Regions from separate parts of the Homo sapiens genome. Here all the other regions are linked to region 1. Evidence: promoter capture Hi-C in 16 types of primary human blood cells and fetal thymus (Javierre and others, 2016). All regions are on one chromosome and are shown on one strand. Each heading gives the region's core, a stretch centred on a gene start or on the middle of the fragment in contact. The rest is flanking DNA. Distances are from core to core; before and after follow the strand shown. Region 1 holds the start of CARTPT (CART prepropeptide). Region 2 overlaps BDP1 (BDP1 general transcription factor IIIB subunit). Region 3 holds the start of LOC124900999 (a long non-coding RNA gene). Region 4 overlaps BDP1 (BDP1 general transcription factor IIIB subunit). Region 5 overlaps BDP1 (BDP1 general transcription factor IIIB subunit).

Region 1 (4,122 bases), core at 1,193-3,692:
TTACATTTAATATGTTTTAATTTCTTGAGTTGAATTCTCACCTCCTCCAATTTTTATTTGTTCCCCTCAAAACTATTTTCTGAAATGACTCTTTCTCCTGGAATAGAGAATTTTTTCCAAGAGTGTGAATTTACTTGTGGGAATGAATGGGTCTTATAACCTTGGAGTCTTTAGACAAATAACAACCCTAAACAGCCCATATCTTTAAATCAATGTATATTTTCTAATAAGGGAGTTGTCAAAACAAAATTTCTAATTTTTCAAATTGCTTTTAATGTGACTAAAACATGAAACTGTTTATAGTTTATTGGTCTCACTGTTTAAAGTAAAGGGTCTGGCTAAAGGTTTTAATAAACAAAATTATATAACCTCAACTCCAACCATCTCCATCTCATTCATCTCTCTCTTTCTCTCTCTCTCTCTCACACACACACACACACACACATACACACACACATACACACACCACATCGCTGCAATCAAAGAAAAATAGAGTATACTAAAACTGGCTTGGCAAACTTCTAATTAACGATCAAAACTCCTTGGAGCTAAGGTGCCATTTTCCCAATAGGCTGCTATTTTTAAAATATTTTTCTTTGAAAACAACAGCATGATTAATCTCACCATTTCCACTTAAATTACTTATATGAAAACAGCAGTGCACTATGGGCAATTATTAAAAACACTTTATTATGTATAATTTGTACATGCTTCAATTTGTGTCACTTAGGGTGATTTATTTTCCAGGTTGTAATGACATCTACCGAGATTAGCTAGATCTAATTTTCATTCTGCCATGCCACATACAAAAATACAATTTTCAAACAAAGCTTCCCTTCTTTACACAAAGGTACACAAGAGTTTGTCAGACAAATAAAATAAGAATACTTCACACACGTATCAACACCATACAAGGCATTATTCTTCACACAGTAACATCTAATGTGTTCTTTTATTTTTGAAACAGCAGGAAAAGAGCCCTTTCCCTTCAGAGGAAAATAAAAACTTTATCTGTTGCTTAAGCCAAACTCCAGGGAGGAAGGTGTGGTCCTCTGGGGAAAGTAGAGGGATGGGGATGTATGGAGGAGAATGGACGCCCCTTCATAAGCACTTCAGGAGGAAGGAATTGCAGGAGGTTCCTCGGGGACAGTCACACAGCTTCCCGATCCTTGCCCCTTTCCTCACTGCACACTGCTCACCGGCGTCACACTGAAACAACAAAATGTGTGGTCATCGAGTATGAACAAACCCAGGTTCCCAACAGGCAAGTCTCACAGTCAACGCAATTTCTGTCTCTTGAAAGGGGCAATTGGACCCCATCACCATCACAAGAGGTCTACGTACAGTCAGATCTGAAACAGGGAGCCTTGTGCTTATAACCTCAGTGAGAGTACATTTTTTAAAGAAACTTACATTATTAGTTTTATCCTAGTTTCTTCCACCTTTAAGTGGCGAGGGTTGGGGGGCGTGGGAAGGGGAGCATCACATTTCCTGGCTCCTTTTCTTGCCCTCTCAGAGGGGAAAAAAATCAGACCTTTTTCCTGAGCAACAAACAATAGACTTACACTTTCTTACAACCCCTGTTCCTGCTTTCCCATTTCCTCACCCGGGAAGGAAGAAGGAGCCCACAGAATCCTGCAAGCCCATTACCTAAGTTATTTAGCCACATCCTACGGAGAAGACTGTGTGTACGATTCAAGGCGGTGTACTTTCTCTTGGAAAAACACGGGAAGGGAGTGACCACAAACCTTACCATGGGGACTTGGCCATACTTCTTCTCATAGATGGGAACACGTTTACTCTTGAGCTTCTTCAAGACTTCTTGCAGCGCTTCGATCTGCAACACACCGCTTCGGAGCCTGAAGTTGCCGCCTTGGCTGCGAGCCCAGCCCAGGTGCGCACTTCCAGCCCTAGTTATAAGGAGCCCCGGACCCACACGCACTCTGCGGTGGGACTCCGCGGACACAGGGAATGGTCGAGGGGTGGAAACTTAGCGGACGCTGTCCCAGGTACTGACCGCGGGTCTCTGAGCCGCTGGGGTCCCTGTTGCTCAGAGGGGCCGGGATGAGGGATTCGCTCAACAGACTGCCAGGAGCCCGTGAGCTCGAGACGCTCTTCGGATGGCAGTGGGTGCCTGGGCGTTGCGCTCAGCTCCCCGCGCCCTGACTCTGGGAATAGGAGTGGGGGTGGGGGGAGGAGGGAGGCGTGCAAGAGAAGAGACAAGGCGACAGCTCAAGGGGGTCGAGAGCGAGGGGAATACCGACCAGCTCCTTCTCGTGGGAGGCATCATCCACGGCAGAGTAGATGTCCAGGGCTCGGGGCTGGAGCTCGGCGTCCTCCTGGGCACGGGTACCCAACAGAGGTAGCATCAGCAGCAGGGCGGCGCCCAGGAGGGGCAGCAGCCTCACGCGGGAGCTCTCCATCGTTCTGAAACTCGTCGTTGCTGGGGCACCACGCGCTCCCACCTTTTATAGTGAGCCCGAGCCCCCGTGCAGGAAAGAGGGAGGAGGCGAAGAAGGAAGGGGGTGTGGAGGAGGGCCCGGGTCAACCGTCTGTAGGCAGCGCTCCGCCGGCGCTTGACGTCAATGCCCGCCGGGTTCCAGGCGCCTGGGAACGAGGCTCTGCGCACAGATGGGCTAGAGCGCAGAGAACAGGACCCTGCGCCCCCAAAGGCTGTCAGTCTCACGGCAAGGGATGCTCCCCGAGGGGCCTGAGCTGAAGCCGAGGGGCTAGAGGTGAGGGACGGGAAGCGGGAGGGGCCTAGGAAATGGAAAATGCCTTCGGGTCAATGCACAGGCAGGAGAGTCGTTTCCCAACACCTAGCAGTGGTGACAGCTGCAACATCCACCTCGCCAGCCCTGCCTTGCCTCGCACCCCAACCCCAAGTGTGGCGGTGAGAAGGGGGTGTTGCCTCCAGACAGCCACATTTGCTGAGCACCTTACTCTGTGGGGTAGGGGAAGCAAACATACTATACAAAAGAAAGAGAAATAGTGGCCCTCCACGTGATGGGTTCTATGATGGAATCTGTGTGACAATAGTTAAAAGAAGAGAGGGAAAACAGACAAACCCGGATTCAGCAGTGGTGTTGGAAGTGCAGAGAGCCAGGCTCTGGTTCCCATCCTGGCTACACCACGTAAAAGTTGTATGACTTTGAACAAAATGAAGAACCTCTCCAAGCCTCAGCTTTCTCTTTTGTAGATCTAGGATTAAAAAGATATACCTCACAAAGTCATCAGTAGGATGAAATGAGAGATTAAGTATGTCAAACTCCTGGTTCTTAGCTAAGCTTCCCTGTCCCTCCTTTTTGAACTTTGAGGCTGCCCAGGCAAATTTAACCATCCCCAGAACCTCCCCCCACCCACCACCAACCCTTGGTATCCAAGAAGCCTGTCTAGAAAGAGAGTAAAAGAGTGAAAAGAAAGACAGCTCCATGATTATGAAAATATCTCCAGAGATCAGAAGTCAATGGTGAACCAGCTCCCCAACAACTTGGGAGAACAATGTGGCTTTTTTAAAAGTTGAGATCCTTACAGCCTGAATGCACAGGAAAATTCCTGTAGGAAAAGCAATGCTTTCCCGCTTAGACCTGCTTGCTCACCTGGCTTCCTTCACCACACCATCTTTCCCTCAACTGTTCCTAAATTCATCCACTCTTCTCCATCCCCATTACTACAACCCAGTCCTAGACAGCTGCCCCAGTCAACTTAATGTCTACCACTTAATCCCCACCCTATCTTCTCTTGCCTTCCTCTACTCCATAGTTCACCACCAACCAGAGTATTTTTCCCCTTAAAATACACTAATGACTCCTAATCTTACTAAGCACTGAATCTAGATTCCTCATCCTGACTTGCAAAGCATTATATGATCTTCACCCCTCTCCACCTCATGTTCTACCACTCTGCCCCAGACTCCTCCACTCCAACCTCACATGGCCTTCTTTCTGGTCCTCTAGCAGGCCAATCTCATTCATACTTTGATGTCTTTGCACTTACCCCTCCTTGAAAGGTCTTCCTGTATTTCCAAAAGGCTCACTACTTCTGTTATTTAAATCTCAGTGTAAATATCTATGACTACTCAATCCAAACCATCTATCAATACTTTTCTCCCACAAATTTATT
Region 2 (4,184 bases), core at 1-2,500, 180 kb after region 1:
AGGAATTATACATACTCCTACTGAAGAAAAAAAAAAAAAACAAAATTAAAATGGACCAAATTATAGATGCTCAAAATAAATTCCTCAACATTTAGTAATTGTAAAATTCTGTATTATTAAAGTTTGCTTCATTTGTGTGGCAGCAATAGAAAAAGATTTTAGAAATAAATAAATTTTGCCCTTGTTGGCTGTAAATTTATGATCTCCCTATTTCATGCCAGGGATTTGACCTGTTGTGAGCTTAATAATCCTTACAGACTGGAATTTTATCCGATTATTAGTAAAAATGAGTTCTTTTGTTACTTTCAGTAATTATATAATCTCAGATGGATTTCAAGACAGCACTGTCAGCATTTAAGATTTTTAAAACCTTTATGTTCTATATGTACTTTATGTTCTATATGTTTTTGACAGGCTGTACTGCAATACTCTGCCACTAAGAAAGGAGCCCTATACAGAACACAAATCAGAGACTTTCCTGATAAATACATGGTTCCAAGCCTAAAAGTCTAATATGTCTTTATTTATCTATTTTTGAGACAGTGTCTCACTTTGTCACCCAGGCTGGAGTGCAGTGGTGCGATCTCAGCTCACTGCAGCCTTGACCTCCTGAGCTCAAGCGATCCTCCCACCTCAGCTTCCCAAGCAGCTAGGACTACAAGTGTACACCACCATGCCTGCCTAATTTTTTGTATTTTTTGTAGAGACGGGGTTCCACCATGTTGCCCAGGCTGGTCTTGAACTCCTGAAGTCAAGCATTCACCAGCCTCAGCCTCCCAAAGTGCTGGTATTATTGGCATGAGCTGCTGCATCTGGCCCAAAAGTCTAATACTTAAAATGAATGGAAGCTGGGTGCGGTGGCTCATGCCTGTAATCCCAGCACTTTGGGAGGCCAAGACGGGTGGATCACCTGAGGTCAGCAGTTCGAGACCAGCCTGGCCAAGATGGTGAAACCCCAACTCTACTAAAAATACAAAAATTAGCTGGGCATGGTGGCATGCGATTGTAATCCCAACTACTTGAGAGGCTAAGGCAGGAGAATTGCTTGAGCCTGGGAGGCAGAGGTTGCAGTGAGCCAAGATCGCACCATTGCACTCCAGCCTGGGTGACAAGAGCGAAACTCTGCTTCAAATAAATAAATAAGATGAATGGTAGGCTACTCATAACCAAACTCCGTCTCAAATAAATAAATAAGTAAATAAAATGAATGGTAACCAGGCAAAATAATTACCAGGAATAGTATAATTATTCATTTCATGCAATTAAAAGATATTGAGATAGTAAAGATTTATCACTTGTCTGTGATTTCCATCTAATAAGTTAAAAATCTTGGTTGATATATCTTTTGGCTCTGTCCAAACTGAGAACAGTTTAAACTAAATTATTTCAATGAGTGCTATTGTCTCTTTGTGCTCTATTTGTCATCTAATTGTGAATACCATCCCAAGCAGCAACTCCTTTGCAAAAGACACATGTATAAACTATATCAGTGATCAATGAGCTCAGTTAACCAATGACATTTATGATGGTAAAGGTAGTATTCACTACCTTTACCATGCATACAACTATTCCATGCATACAACTATTCCATGAATACAAATTATTCTTAATAAACCAAGAGCATGATCTTGAATTAGCTGTCACTACACCTAAACAGTAGTAAAATAGTGGATGGATCAATACATACATATCATATTTTATGGAAGAACAACAAAATGGAGACAACTTCAAAGGTAAAAGGGTTATTACTCAAATGTGGGTATAATTTCTTAAGTTAGGTTTTAAAAGTTTCTATTTTTGATAGGACTTAGCTTTCATTCTTACCATCACCCTGTTCACTACTGATCTCTGACTGCAATACTAGATCTCCCATTGTAAGTAAAGTTATTGCAGCTTCGGTGCTTCCATCATTGGTACCTTGTGAGGAAATATATCAACATTAAAAAAAAGAATGAATCCGGAAATCTGTTCACTTAAAAAAGATTTTTAATTAAGGTGTTTATCTCCTAGGAGCAGATTCCAATATCCTCTGAGCCATTAATCCCTTACTAAGGTAGTCTTTTGTTCAGGTTATATGCTACAAATAAATAAATCATCACTGTTGGTTTTGACTCACTGACCATGCCTCCCTCCCATTAAATAATATCTTCAAGGAAAATGCTCTCCCATTTGTGAAGATCCAGAGGAAATGCTCAAATACTTCTTAAACATTTTTTTAATTCACCTTCTAAAATAACATTCCAAGAATCCACATTTCTCACAGAGACAACACATTCAATAGCTGAATCTTTTTGTTAAACTCTCCAGCAAACTGATTCATTTATTATCCCCACTATTAAATCACTGTACTAGTGTTAATCAAGGTAGTCTTAGCAGTTTCCTTGATAACAGTTACCTGGTTCATCTTGGATATGTTCACTTGTGGTCATTTCCTAAAAAGGAAAAAAATAAGTAACATCTTAAAATACTTCCCCAAACATGTTCTGTTTCTCAGCATGCACTACATTTTCAGAGGTCTTTCCATACTTTTAGCTACAATAGTGTAAACTGGTTTGTCTTAATTTATAATTATTCACAAAATTTCACCAGCAAGAACATAAACAATTTAAAGGCAAAATTCTTGTGTCTCTTGCTCCTGACTTTATCTTTTTCTTGTATTATGTGCAAATTTTAACTCTTATCATTTTGTTATGTACGTCTACCATTCTTACTTTACTTCTTCATTTTCATAATCCTTCAACTCTAGTCATATCTGCTGCCAATTTTTACCCAATGGAAACCAAGGCCTAAAGGGTATTGCAAAATTTTTATACTACTACGTAGCTTAAAACTTAAATGCATTTTAATAAATTAAGAAGTTACAGAACCAATGTCCAGAGCGACAGCTTGAGAAGCTTCACTGACCCACTCCTCAGTGAAACTGATTTTAAAAACAAAACATTTAAAAGCCTCTGAAACTGATCCTAACGACAAAAAGCAAATGAAGAAATATCTGTTCAAGAAAATCTGAAAATTTGCTAACAAAGGTGAGAGTCTATGTGAACTAACACTGCTCTTTCTCTCTCCTTCCTCCCAGCTCAGCATGGCAGAGACTCCACCTCAAACTGCTGCACCCAAAAATACAAGGCCCCCAGTCCCCAAGGTCCCACCTGGAGAGCATTTTTCCCTAGGGGAGTAGGACTTCATCTCCTGACATCACAAGAAAAGTACAGACCAATATCTATTATGAATATGGACATAAAAATCACCAATAAAATACTAGCAAGCTGAATCCAACAATGAATAAAAATTAGACATTATGATCCTAGAATTTATCCTGGGGAAGCAAGGTTGGTTTAACGTCCAAAAAATACAATGAAAAACAAAATTCACATGATCATCTCCATAAATGCAGAAAAAGCATATGACAAATTCCAACACCCTTTAATGAAAGAAACATTCAACAAACTAGGAATAGAAAGTAACTTCTTTAGCCTGGTAAAGGACGTTTATGAAAAATCCATGGTAACATCATACTTAATGATAAGACAGGATGGGAGGAGTGGTAGCAGCCAGGCAGCCCAGCTTTGAGAAGGCTCTCAGCATGGTGCGGCTCACAGGCACCCAGCATGCACACTCCTGACCACAAGATGCCCAAGAGGAAGATCAGCTCAGCAGAAGGGCGGTGAAGGAAAGAGCCCAAGATGAGATTAGTATGACTGTCAGCTAAACCTGCTCCTGCAAAAGTGGAAACAAAGCCAAAAAAGGCAGCAGGAAAGGATAAATCTCCAGACAAAAAAAGTGCAAACAAGAGAAAAACGGGGAACAAAGGGAAAACAAACCAAAGTGGCTAACCAAGAAATCAGATTTACCTACAGAAAACAGAGAAACAAAAACCAAGGAAAGTCCAGCCTCTGATGAAGCCCAGAGAGAAAAAAAGCCAAGTCTGATTAATATCATATACTATGTCTTACCAATAGTACCTGTCTCCCTTCTTGTACATTCCAGAGGAATATTTTTCTCAACTATTTCACAAATGCAAGTTTTTTAGTAACTCTAGAAACATTTTTAAGAAGAAGGAAATCCCACCTCATCCCATTTTTTAAGTGTACATGCTTTTAAGGGTAAAAATCATTTTCCAGTTGTTTATTTTTTGGTACAACCAGAAAACAGTGTGCGATATTGAATTATGGGAGGCTTTGACT
Region 3 (4,350 bases), core at 271-2,770, 140 kb after region 1:
AATCTCTAAACAACCCAAATGTCCATTAACAGATGAATGAATAAGCAAATTATGGTAAATCCATATGACACAATACTGCCTGCAATAAAAATGATGTAGGGCACGGTAGCTCACACCTACAATCCCAGCTACTTGGGAGGCTGAGGCCCTTCAGCCCAGGAGTTCAAGACCAGCCTGGGCAACACAGCAAGGCCCCACTCTTAAAAAATTAGCCTGGTATAGTGGCGCGTACCTGTAGTTCCAGCTACTTCGGAAGCCAAGGTGGGAGGATCACTTGAGCCTAGGAAGTCAAGGCTGCAGTGAGCTATGATTGCACCACTGCACTCCAGCCTGGGCAACAGAACGAGGCCCCAACTCTTAAAAAACAAAAACAAAAACAAAAAAAGTTAGATTTTATGTAAAGCACAATCTCTAAAGGTTATCCAAGACCACTTTTAAGCTTAATGATTAACTAGAAAGACTCACAGAACTCAGAAAAGCTATGTTCAGTTATGGCTTATTACAGTGAAAGGATACAGTTTTAAATCAGCATAAAATTAGCATAAACTATCTGTCATGGCTGAAGGCCCCAGGTATACAAAAACTCTTAAAAGGCAGGACATTTATTTCAAGGGCTTATAGGTTAAGGAACTGGTCAAGTGTCAGTTCCTTCTTTGGAATGTGTACAACCCAAACCTGCTGAATTAACCCTTTATTGCACAGTTACATACTGTATGATCCCATTTTAATGAAATGAAAAGTTGTGGGCCCAGCATGGTGGCTCATGCCTGTAATCTCAGCGCTCTGGGAGGCCAAGGCAGGGGTGGGGGATCGCCTGAGCCCAGGAGTTGGAGACTAACCTGGGCAACATAGCAAAACCCAGTCTCTACAGAAACTTTTTTCAAAAAAACAGCTGAGCGTGGTGGCATGCACCTGTGGTCCCAGCTGCTTGGGAGGCTGAGATGGGAGGATTGCTTGAGCATGGGAGGTCAAGGCTGCCATGAGCTGTGCACTCCAGCCTAGGTGACCAAAAAAAAAAAAAAAAAGTTGTAGTGGAGAACAGATAAGTGGTTGTCAAGGGTTAGAGCTGGAGGAGGGAATGACTATAATTGACAGCATGAGAGTGACTTTCGGGGTGATGGAACAGCTCTGTACCCTGACTGTGGTGATGTTACATAAACCTATACATGGGATAAAATTTCATGGAATTGTATATACACATGCACTGCCTGTAAGCATGATATGTAGCCAGCTTTCTGTATCCCCAGATCTCACATCGGCAAATTCAACCAACCACAGATGGAAAATATTGGGTGGGAAGAGACAATAAAAAAATAACAATACAGGCCAGGCGCAGTGGCTCACACCTATAATCCCAGCACTTTGGAAGGCCAAGGTGGGCGGATCACTTGAGCCTAGGAGTCTGAGACCAGCCTGGGCAACATGGCGAAAAACCCATCTCTATTAAAAATACAAAAATTAGCTGGGAGTGGTGGAGCCTGTAATTCTAGCTACTCGGGGGCTGAGGCAGGAGGATCACCTAAGCCATGGGAGGTCGAGGCCATAGTGAGCTACGATCTCACCACTGTACTGCAGCCTGGGCAATAGTTGAGACCCTGTCTTAAAAAAAAAAAAACCACGCAACAATACAATAAAAAAATACAAATTTAAAATGCAGTATAATGACTATTTGCATAGCATTCGCATTTGTATTAGTTATTAGAAATAATCCAGAGAAAATTTAAAGTACATGGGAGGACGTGCATAAGACATATGCTCATACCATTTTATATAAAGGACTTGAGCATCCTGGGGTTTTGGTGGAGGAGGAGAGTTGTGGAACCAATCCTTGAGGATATTGAGAATTGGCTGTAATTTGAATAAAATCTTTAGTTAATAGTATTGCGCACATGTCAATTTCCTGGTTTTCATCATTGTACTAGGATTATATAAGATGTTCTTGGGGAAATATAATTTAAGACAAAAATTCCTGCCACAACAAAAAACCTCTCCATTAAAGTAGAAGAGAAAAAAACAATTTTAGTATTTGAAAACCTATCAAACCAGAATGTGATGTGCATTACAGGCAATCTGCTAAAGAGATTGCAAAGACAACCTAACCCTCACCCCTGGAAGGCAGAGGTTGCAGTGAGCCGAGATTGCGCTACTGCACTCCAGCTTGGGTGACGGAGTGAGACTCTGTCTCAAAAAAATAAAAAACACTCACCCCTTTATATAACCAGGCAGATGCAACCCATGTCATACATGTTTTCAAGATAAACAACTAGTCCTCAAATAAGATGACTTCACAGCACCACCTGTCACCTGCGAATCGGAGTAGTCACCTGTGTTTGTTAATTGTCTTTATCCAAAGGAAAATTAAATTTCTTATGTCTTTATGGTAGGTTTGTAACTTAACAGGTGCCAGCTGAAGTTAGGTTCCTACCCTTCCATAGGACTAGGAAATAGGAATGCTATTTCCCTCGATGATTTCATTTCAAAGAGAAGGCTTCCAGGTCCTTAAGGATAAGATTATGGGGTTGGGGAAAAAAAAAACTGACAAGAGATTTATTTATCTTTTTTTTTTTAAACTAACACCTTTCTCATGGGTTATTAAGCTTATTTAAAAAAAGATGTAGGCCGGGCATGGTGGCTCACACCTGTAATCCCAGCACTTTGGGAGGTGGAGGCAGGCGGATCACGAGCTCAGGAGATTGAGACCATCCTGGCCAACATGGTGAAACCCCGTCTCTACTAAAAATACAAAAATTAGCTGGGCATGGTGGCCCGTGCCTGTAATCTCAGCTACTTGGGAGGCTGAGACAGGAGAATAGCTTGAACCAGGGAGTCGGAGGTTGCAGTGAGCCGAGATTGTGCCATTGCACTCTAGGCTGGCGAAAGAGCGAGCCTCATAAAAGAAGATGTAAATACATCTTCAAAGGGCAGAGAAGGAATTCACAATTACAAGTTTTCTAAAGTAAACGCTCTGAAGACAGACTGGGGGATTCTTTCTTTTCTAGGAAAATTCAATTTTTAATTGTTTTTAGATTTTTATTTACACTTACATAATCATGGGGGAAAAGTGAAGGATACAAGGGGAACTTTTTGTATTATTTTTGCAACTTCTATGTGAGTCTAAAATTATTTCAAAGAAGCTATGTGCAGTGGCTTGTGCCTATTGTCCCAGCTACTTGGGAGGCCAAAGTGAGAGGATCACTTGAGCCCAAGGGTTTGAGGCCAGCCTGGGCAAATAGTGAGACTCCATCTCCAAAAAAAAAAAAAAAAAAAAAAAAAAAGAATTATAGTCAAATTGAAACATGTTGAGAGGAGAAGAGGAGATTGGGAAAGAAACAAAGAGACTAGAAATAAGGAGTACTTGGTATATACTTATGCTATATGGCTAACCTTTAAAAAATACAATATATCCACTTTATGAGAAAAGCCATACAAAATATAAAGATTAAACCATATTTTTAAAAAAGAATAAATTATTAATATATTCAACAAGGTAGATGAATCTCAAAATAATCATGCTAAGGCTGGATGCGGTGGCTCACGCCTGTAATCCCAACACTTTGGGAGGCCGAGGCAGATGGATCACCTGAGATCAGGAGTTCGAGAACAGCCTGGCCAACATGGCAAAACCCCGTCTCTACTAAAAATACAAAAATTAGCCGGGCGTGATGGCGGGCGCCTGTGATCCCAGCTACTTGGGAGGCTGAGGCAGGAGAATCACTTGAACTCAGGAGGCAGAGGCTGCAGTGAGCCAATATTGCACCACTGCACTCCAGCCGGGGCAAAAAGAGTGAAACTGTGTCTCAAAAACAAACAAACAAACAAAAAATCATGCTAAAGGGAAGAAGTGAAACCAAAAAGGAAAAAGGGTATATATGATTTCATTTATATAAAATTCTAGAAAATGCAGGCTATCCATCGTGACCAAAAGCAGATTGTTACCTTGGGATCTGGGAGGTGTTCAGGAGAGAGGGAGGAGCAGGAGGCCAGGGTAGAAGAGGCAACTTTGGAAATGATGGATATATTATTATTATTGTGGTGATGGTTTATGGGTGTACACATATATTAAAATTTAATTGTATTCTAAATATATGCAGTTTGTGTGTCAAATATAGCCAATAAAGCTATTTAAAGGAATCCCAAGCCAAGCACTCCATACCAGTTAAATGATCATTTCTGATGTTGGAACCTAGGAATGAGTATTCTTTTAAACATCTCAGGTGATTCCAGTAGGCAGCCAAGTTTGAGAATCTGCTATAAAACAGTGATTCTCAAATCGTGCTCACAGGCCAGTGGCATCAGCCTCACCCAGGAACTTGTTAGAAATGCTCATTCTTAGGCCCCAGGCTGATCTGC
Region 4 (4,000 bases), core at 1,062-3,561, 250 kb after region 1:
AGGAATACATTAGTCCAATATTTGAAAATCAAGGTAATGTAATTCAGTAGCTTTAAATACAGTCTATTCTCATTTTTGAGATGGAGTCTCACTCCCATTGCACAGACTGGAGTGCAGTGGTACAATCTCAGCTCACTGCAACCTCCACCTCCCGGGTTCAGGCGATTCTCCTTCCTCAGCCTCCCGAGTAGCTGGGATTACAGGCATGCGCCACCACGTCCGGCTAATTTTTGTATTTTTAGTAGAGACGGGGTTTCACCATGTTGGCCTGGCTGGTCTTGAACTCCTGACCTCAGGTGATCCACCTGCCTTGGCCTCCCAAAGTGCTGGGATTACAGGCGTGAGCCACCATGCCCAGCCTACTCTCACTTTTCTACACTTTACCCAACGACCTGCTAGAGCCATAGTAACCTTTCAGGAAAAGAATATACATGATTTTTGAGACAAATAGCCCAGTGACAAATTTATAATTAATTACACAGATCAGCAGAGCACTCCAATTCCAGAAAATCAATTTCTAGCCTTCACAGAATTTTAACATTTTGTTCTTTTATCAAAGATCAACATTAGAAAATGAACATGAAGAATATAAAGTTCCTCATCTCTTGCAGAAATAACAAGACTATTTCATTACACTGTACAATGCCCCTTATGTAATGTCCCCAGACAATCCATGCCTAATTTAGTTCTAGTGGAAAAAACATACCTTCCTAATGGTTCCTTTTATTAATGTAATGAACATGATAGGGATGAGAAATGAAGTAAAAAGCCCATGGTTGAGTAAAGATCTCACTATCAATTGAGAATGCATTATGGCAACATAGTGTGATGACACTCAAATGCACTTAAACCCAGAAAACTTGTATAAAGTTTCTCAAGCAAAGAAACTAAAAAACAGAGAAAGCTCATCCTCTTGGGCATATAATAGCTGTAACTGACATCACTGTTGTTATTAGTGCCACTGGTTGTCCCAAAGTTAAGGGGGCCTAGGAAAGCAACGGATCAGAAAATGAGAACTGTGTAAACTCAGATTTCTTCTCTTTAAGCTTTCCTAGGAAATTCTGAAATACATTTTGCATTGAAAAAGCTACCCTCAACCGGGCATGATGGCTCACGCCTGTAATTCCAGCACTTGGTGGGAGGCCAAGGTGGGTGAATCACCAGAGGTCAAGAGTTCAAGACCAGGCTGACGAACATGGTAAAACCCCCTCTCTACGAAAAATAAAAAATTAGCTGGGCGTGGTGGTGTGCGCCTGTAATCCTAGCTACTAGGGAGGCTGAGGCAGGAGAATCACTTGAATTTAGGAGGCAGAGGTTGCAGTGAGCCGATATCGCACCACTGCACTCCAGCCTGGGCAACAGAGCGAGACTCCATCTCAAAAAAAAAAAAAAAAAAAAAAGCTACCCTTAACCAAAGTACTCTGGTACATTTATCTTCTCTTTTCATTATGTAACTCTTCTTATATCTTAGTTGCAGTGCATTTTTATTGGTACTGCCTCAAATTCATTTTAGAAATGAAGAAGATATAAGAAAATATGAAACTAACATAAAGAAGATTATACCCATATCAGAACTGATAAATATTACTTTTCAATAAAGAGGGATAAATGTAACAAAACCATCATAACAGTTTAAAAAAAAAAAAAGGGCTGGGCACGGTGGCTCTAGCCTGTAATTCTAACACTTTGGGAGGCCAAGATGGGGGGATTAACCTGAGCTCAAGAGTTCGACAGCAGCCTGGGCAACATGGTAAAACCCCGTCTCTACTAAAACAGTAAAAAAATCAGCCGGGCGTGGTGGCAGGTGCCTGTAATACCAGCTATGTGACATGCTGAGGCATGAGAATTGCTTGAACCCGGAGGCAGAGGTTGCAGTGAGCCGAGACTGTGCCACTGCACTCCAGCCTGGGCAACAAAGTGAAACTCTGTCTCAATGAAAAAAAAAAAAAAGATGAACTAAGATTTAAACCAAAGGTAAGCGAATAATACTACTAACATTTGTAATGTTTGGTCTCTTTCCAATCAACAAATGTGATGGGTTTACTTTACCTTAATTTCTATCCTTGCTCTGTGAGGAAAAAGTTGTCCGATCATAGAAAAGTCAGTTCCTACCATGCTGATGGCTAAAAAAAACATATCTGTTTCTGTGAAAATAAAAGATTTAGAATGATTGAAAATTAATTATATCAATATTTCAGAGAAAAGAAATCTTACAGAATTTGACAGTACTTAATTTTACTAGAAAGATCCCCATGCAATACCTAAAAACACCTTATTATAAATAAAAACTTTTCAGTATAAGAAATCGTAGGCTGGGCATGGTGGCTCACACCTATAATCCCAGAACTTTGGGAGGCCAAGGCAGGCAGATCATTTGAGGACAAGAGTTAGAGACCAGGGCCGGTCGCGGTGGTTCACGCCTGTAATCCCAGCACTTTGGGAGGCTGAGGCGGGTGGGTCACCTAAGGTCAGGAGTTTGAGACCAGCCTGACCAACATGGAGAAACCCCGTCTCTACTAAAAATACAAAATTAGCTGGGCATGGTGGCACATGCCTGTAATCCCAGCTATGTGGGAGGCTGAGGCAGGAGAATCGCTTGAACCCGGGAAGCGGAGGTTGCAGTGAGCCGAGATCGTGCCATTGCACTCCAACCTGGGCAACAAAAGTGAAATTCCATCTCAAAAAAAAAAAAAAAAGAGTTTGAGACCAGCCGGGCCAACATGGTGAAACCCTGTCTCTGCTAAAAATAAAAAAAAAATGAGCTGGGCGTGGTGGCGTGCACCTGTAATCCCAGCTACTGGGGAGGCTGAGGCAGAAGAATAGCTTGAACCCGGGAGGCGGAGGTTACAGTGAGCTGAGATGGCGCCACTGCACTCCAGCCTGGGCGAAAGAGCGAGACTCCACCTCAAAAAAAAAGAAAAAGAAATCATACAAAAGCATCTGGAATTTTTTTTTTAAAACATTCATTCTGCCTAGCTGATCTTATTCAAAGTGCTCTGAAGAAAGCTATGAGTCATACTCAGGATAGGGTTACACTACATAGGCAACTAAGATGTGCTAAGTAGTATATAAAGAAAGTAGCTAGAAAAATACACAAGAGGCCACGCACGGTGGCTCACGCTTGTAAATACCAGCACTTTGGGAGGCCGAGGCGGGCAGATCACTTGAGGTCAGGAGTTCCAGACCATCCTGGCCAACATGGTGAAACCCCGTCTCTACTAAAAACACAAAAATTAGCTGGGCATGGTGACATATGCCTGTAATCCCAGCTACTCGGGAGACTGAGGAAGGAGAATCACCTGAACCTAGGAGGTGGCGGCTGCAGTGAGCCAAGATCGCACCACTGCACTCCAGCCTGGGTGACAGAGTGAGACTCGGTCTCAAAAAAAGAAACTACTAACAGAAGTTACACTTCAGGAGAATAGGAATAGGGAAGTGAAAGAAGGGAAGTATAGAATCTTTTTACTCTATATCCTGCTGTTTGAATTTTTCCTCAAAACTACTGTTTTTAAAATAAAAACAATAAGCACCAACATGCAACAGATTTTTAACAGCATATTTATCTATAGAAGCTTTATTATACAATATTATCTGAGGTAGAACATTATTCGCATTAGAAATATTGTATTGTTGGCTGGGCACAGTGGCTCACGCGTGTAATCCCAGCACTTTGGGAGGCTGAGGCAGGCGGATCACCTGAGGTCAGGAGTTCGAGACCAGCCTGGCCAACATGGTGAAACCCCATCTCTACCAAAAACACAAAAATTAGCTGGGCATGGTGGCAGGCGCCTGTAATCCCAGCTGCTCGGGAGGCTGAGGCAGGAGAATCGCTTGAACCCAGGAAGCAGAGGTTGCAGTGAGCCGAGATCGCGCCACCGCACTCCAGCCTAGGCGACAAGAGCGAAACTCCATCTCAAAAAAAAAAAAAAAAGGAAATATTGTATTGTTAATTTTTATTTAAATGGTATTTACTGTAGAGATTTGACAGAGAGGAACATTC
Region 5 (3,992 bases), core at 1,353-3,852, 210 kb after region 1:
CTTAATTATGCCTTTGGCTTCACCTTTGTCTACTATTTGCCTCTGTCCTGTCTTTCTTATATTTGGTCTCGGTCTCTGAAGTCGGCCCCTTACTTGTCGAGCAGTTTGGATAACACTTTCCTTCATTTCTTGCTGGAAAGTGTTTACATTATTAGTCCTAAACAAGGGGACAGGGAGAAAGGCAGGGCGCTTGACTGTAAAAAGCTGAAAACTAATGTAAAAATGTAAAATTTGGATCTCCTCTAATAAACACTCTAAAAAATACTTTGTACCATTAAAGGGAAATTGCTTTCTGATTATAAACATCTTATTTTACAAAAGAAAACAGTTATGTCAATTCTTAAAAGGTAATAAACTTATATAATATGCCTAAAGTAGCTAAATATACAGATAGAATGGTGGTTGCCAGGAGCTGGAAGAGGAGGAGAATGAGTTAGTATTTAATGGGTAGAGAGTTTCATTTTATGAAGATGAAAAAGAAAGTCTAGAGATGAATGGTGGTGGCAACGGGACAACAATGTGAATACACTTAATGCCACTGTATATTAAAAAATAGTTAAAATGGTAAATTTTATCTTATGTGTATACTAATTTTTAAAAGTTAATGAATATATATAGCTTATATACATATAAGCTGAGTAGCCCTATCCAAAATGCTTAGGACCAGAAATGTTTCAGATTTCAGATTTTTTTAGATTTGGAAATATTTGCATTATACTTATCAGTTGAGCATCCCTACTTTGAAAATCCAAAATGCTCCACTGAGCATTTCTTGAGCATCATGTCAGCTCTCAAAAAGTTTTAAATTGTGGCACATTTCAGAATTTTTTATTAGGGATGCTCAACTTGTAGTTTTTAAATGCATTGCTTTGTATACACTCTTACGCAGCTGACAATGCAGATAAGCAGGCAACCATTAGAAGGTGTTGAATTCAATCTGATATTATATTTTAGGCAGTCTGCTGTATCAATAAAATTAAACCAATATTCTTTATGTTCACTTTTTAAATGCATTAACATATCTCAATAAAAATTAGAAATATTTAAAAGAAGTATCTCTCTTATTTTATATTGTCAAAGAAAATCACTGTTTACCCCACAGAAACAACTGAGTCATTTTTCTGGACTGGTGCTGACTGAGACTCCTCTTTAGGTTCACAAGAATTTGAAGGTGAAAGGTTCCTTTCAGTCTGTGTACATGGCAATATCACAGCCTCCTCATTCCTGTGACCTAATGTGTCTTTTTCTCTTGATATCATTAGGGAAGCTTCATCCTAGAAGACAGAAAAAAAATTTCATTCACAGTTGCTAAAAGTATAAGGAAATAAGAACTTTACAAGTATAAACTGATATCATCTTCGTGAAGAATAATAGGGTAGTCTATACCAAAATTCTAAATTCCCAGCAATTCCACTTCTAGAAATGTATCTTATAAATACTCAACAAGTAGAAATATACACACAAAAATATTTATTGTAACAATTTAAGCACCACCTCCCTCACCGGAAAAGACAAACAAAAAAATCAGAAATAAAACAGATATATCATTAGGGGATGGAATAAATAAATTTTAATTTCTTTACAATGCAATAGTACCTAATCATTTAAAAGAAGATATATCTCTTTGTACTGATCTAAAAAGAAGCTCACAATACTGTAAGTGGAAAAATCAGAAAGCAAGAATTAATGTCATTTTGGAAAACAATAAAAATACCTTCCCATTTTATCATTTTATAACTGTAAGACGAAAAAGTGTAAGTGGATATATTCAAAATTGCTGTATGATTAACTTGGGGGAAAGGGACGTGACATTATAAAAGACTCTCACTTTTTAGAATACATATATTTTTCCAAATTAAAATTTCTATAATCAGAAAGTATAATACAAATGTAACTTATCTTTTATGAATATAAGCTTAGGAGAAATAGTACAAATGTTGATGCACAGTAAAGTACTGAGCTATTTTAAGACATCAAATAAGAATTTTAATTCTAAGAAGGACTTCCACTGAATGTGGAAAACATTCAGTTTATAATTATTCATTTCGTTTCAATGTTTTTTTGATGGTATGTCACACAATCTTAATCTGTTATGGACCAAGTTAATAAAGTAAATAAAATATCACCTTTAACTCAAATCAAGCTTTTAACTCTTCATTTCACCTTCACAAGAGAGTGAAATAAAAAACGATTATTCTCGCTGGGCGCCACGGCTCAGCGTAATCCCAGCACTTTGGGAGGCCAAAGCAGGCAGATCACGAGGTTAGGAGTTCGAGATCAGCCTGGCTAACATAGTGAAACCCCATCTCTACTAAAAATACAAAAAAAAAAATTAGCCGGACATGGCAGCACGCGCCTGTAGTCCCAGCATTCAGGAGGCTGAGGCAGGAGAATCGCTTGAACCTGGGAGGTGGAAGTTGCAGTGAGCCGAGATCGCGCCACTGCACTCCAGCCTGGGAACAGAGTGAGACTTCATCTCAAAAAAATAAAAATAAAAAAAATAAAAAACTATTATTGTCATTTTTTCTATGAAGAAAATTGTTTAATCAATGGTCACATAGCTGGAACTGGAACCAGAGCCCAGACCTGAACGCTTTCCCACAACACGTTTGCCCATTATCAGATATCTGAGATTCTTACACAAATTATGTGGAACAATGAGGCACATTAAGCATGGGAGCAATATCACATGCAGCAAAAATTACACAGAAATATTTGTAGAATTTTAATGCCAGGTGCTTTTAGTAGTCCTAATAACTTAAAAAAAAAAAAAAACACCCACACAGAACTTCCATCTCAAATACACTCACATGTTGAGAAGGGAGAGTATCAGTTTGTTCATTATTTTCTTGCATCACAATAGTCTCCATTTTCTTGGTTTCTGATTTCTTCTCATATATATATTTTTCTGATTCTGTAGTCTCTCTCTTCAAAGCTGCTCTTGCTAAGTTTGGTTTTGGTCTTTTGAATCGGCTCCTCACAAAAGGTGCTGGTTTAATTTCAAGTGGCTTCTGTTCTTGAGGAAGAGATTTGCTTTTGGAACAAGGATTATCAAGCTTTAGAATGAACTGAAGGGGCAGTGGAAACGGAGTCTCAGTACAACCTTAGAGACTGGCGGTAAACATTTAATTTTTTTTTTTTTTTTTTTTTTTTTGGAGACAGGGTCTTGTTCTATCCCCCAGGCTGGAGTGCAATGACACAATCATAGCTCACTGCAGCCTTGACCTCCGCGGGCTCAAGTGATCTTCCCATCTGAGCCTCCCAAGTAGCTGGGACTACAGGCATGTGCCACCACACCCAGCTAGTTTTTGTTTTTTTATTTTATAGAGATGGGGTTTCTACAGCGTGTTGCCCAGGCTGGTCTCAAACTCCTAGGCTCAAAGGATCCACCCACCTCAGCCTCCCAAATTGCTAGGATTACAGGTGTGAGCCACCATACTTGGCCTAATTCTAATTCTTAACAGGAAAACAAATCGAACTATCTGGCAGATCCTGAAAACCATGAGTGGTACAATCCAGGTATGAGCCTAGGAATTACACCATCTCTGCACAAAGAAAATATGAGTCTATCAAACCTGTATTGATTTAAGACTGTTACATACAATTTTGTATGTCAGTAACTTTCACAATTGACTGTCAGAGTGACCTCAATCCTCTCTCCCAGTCTTCCCAAAACTATCTTAAAAGCTCTAACACTATCCTGTATATGTTATATCTTGAAACCTCACTTAGTTTAACGTAATCTGCAACTATAACTTAATATCTTTTTCTTTAAAAACACACTTGTACCTTAAATTAATATCTGAAAACTGCTCTGGAACATCTGGAGATTGAATCCCCTGGACTTCTGTTTTATCAGATTCATGAGTCTGTGAAGAAATCTTGAAATGACTGAAGTGACTTGATACTTCTTTTTCAGAATTTCTTTTTTCTTCTACAGGTGTATGCATCATCGACAGTACTTCACTGCTAATGTTCTAGAGGAACAGTCA

What was found. The method cuts DNA at HindIII sites, captures the fragments that hold promoters and counts their contacts. A CHiCAGO score of 5 or more calls a contact.
Region 2: a contact is called between a fragment that was not itself captured here and the fragment with the promoter of CARTPT in region 1, in 1 of 17 cell types (endothelial precursors). The highest score is 5.9, in endothelial precursors.
Region 3: a contact is called between a fragment that was not itself captured here and the fragment with the promoter of CARTPT in region 1, in 1 of 17 cell types (endothelial precursors). The highest score is 8.5, in endothelial precursors.
Region 4: a contact is called between a fragment that was not itself captured here and the fragment with the promoter of CARTPT in region 1, in 1 of 17 cell types (endothelial precursors). The highest score is 7.4, in endothelial precursors.
Region 5: a fragment that was not itself captured here is called in contact with the fragment with the promoter of CARTPT in region 1 in 1 of 17 cell types (endothelial precursors); the score reaches 5.2 in endothelial precursors.

Annotation. Positions count from the first base shown.
Region 1 is chr5:71,717,595-71,721,716 of GRCh38, reverse strand. It overlaps CARTPT (CART prepropeptide), which reads right to left and starts at 2,442. Exons shown (of 3, transcript NM_004291.4): 1 at 2,265-2,442; 2 at 1,754-1,837; 3 at 672-1,209. The coding sequence starts at 2,423. The coding sequence ends at 1,102. RefSeq lists an enhancer at 1,418-2,304. The HindIII fragment of the contact is 2,457 bases long and covers 833-3,289 here.
Region 2 is chr5:71,537,290-71,541,473 of GRCh38, reverse strand. It overlaps BDP1 (BDP1 general transcription factor IIIB subunit), which reads right to left. Exons shown (of 39, transcript NM_018429.3): 27 at 2,396-2,432; 28 at 1,825-1,917; 29 at 1-20. It also overlaps the pseudogene HMGN1P12. Among named protein-coding and RNA genes, the nearest start is that of MCCC2, 48 kb to the left of the region's middle. The HindIII fragment of the contact is 3,292 bases long and covers 1-2,896 here.
Region 3 is chr5:71,578,456-71,582,805 of GRCh38, reverse strand. LOC124900999 (a long non-coding RNA gene) reads right to left here and starts at 2,667. Exons shown (of 4, transcript XR_007058810.1): 1 at 2,207-2,667; 2 at 1,763-1,848; 3 at 233-356. The HindIII fragment of the contact is 2,158 bases long and covers 442-2,599 here.
Region 4 is chr5:71,468,539-71,472,538 of GRCh38, reverse strand. It overlaps BDP1 (BDP1 general transcription factor IIIB subunit), which reads right to left. Exons shown (of 39, transcript NM_018429.3): 7 at 2,050-2,144. Among named protein-coding and RNA genes, the nearest start is that of BDP1, 15 kb to the right of the region's middle. The HindIII fragment of the contact is 2,526 bases long and covers 1,049-3,574 here.
Region 5 is chr5:71,512,226-71,516,217 of GRCh38, reverse strand. BDP1 (BDP1 general transcription factor IIIB subunit) reads right to left here. Exons shown (of 39, transcript NM_018429.3): 18 at 3,790-3,977; 19 at 2,811-3,033; 20 at 1,096-1,274; 21 at 1-157. Among named protein-coding and RNA genes, the nearest start is that of BDP1, 59 kb to the right of the region's middle. The HindIII fragment of the contact is 913 bases long and covers 2,146-3,058 here.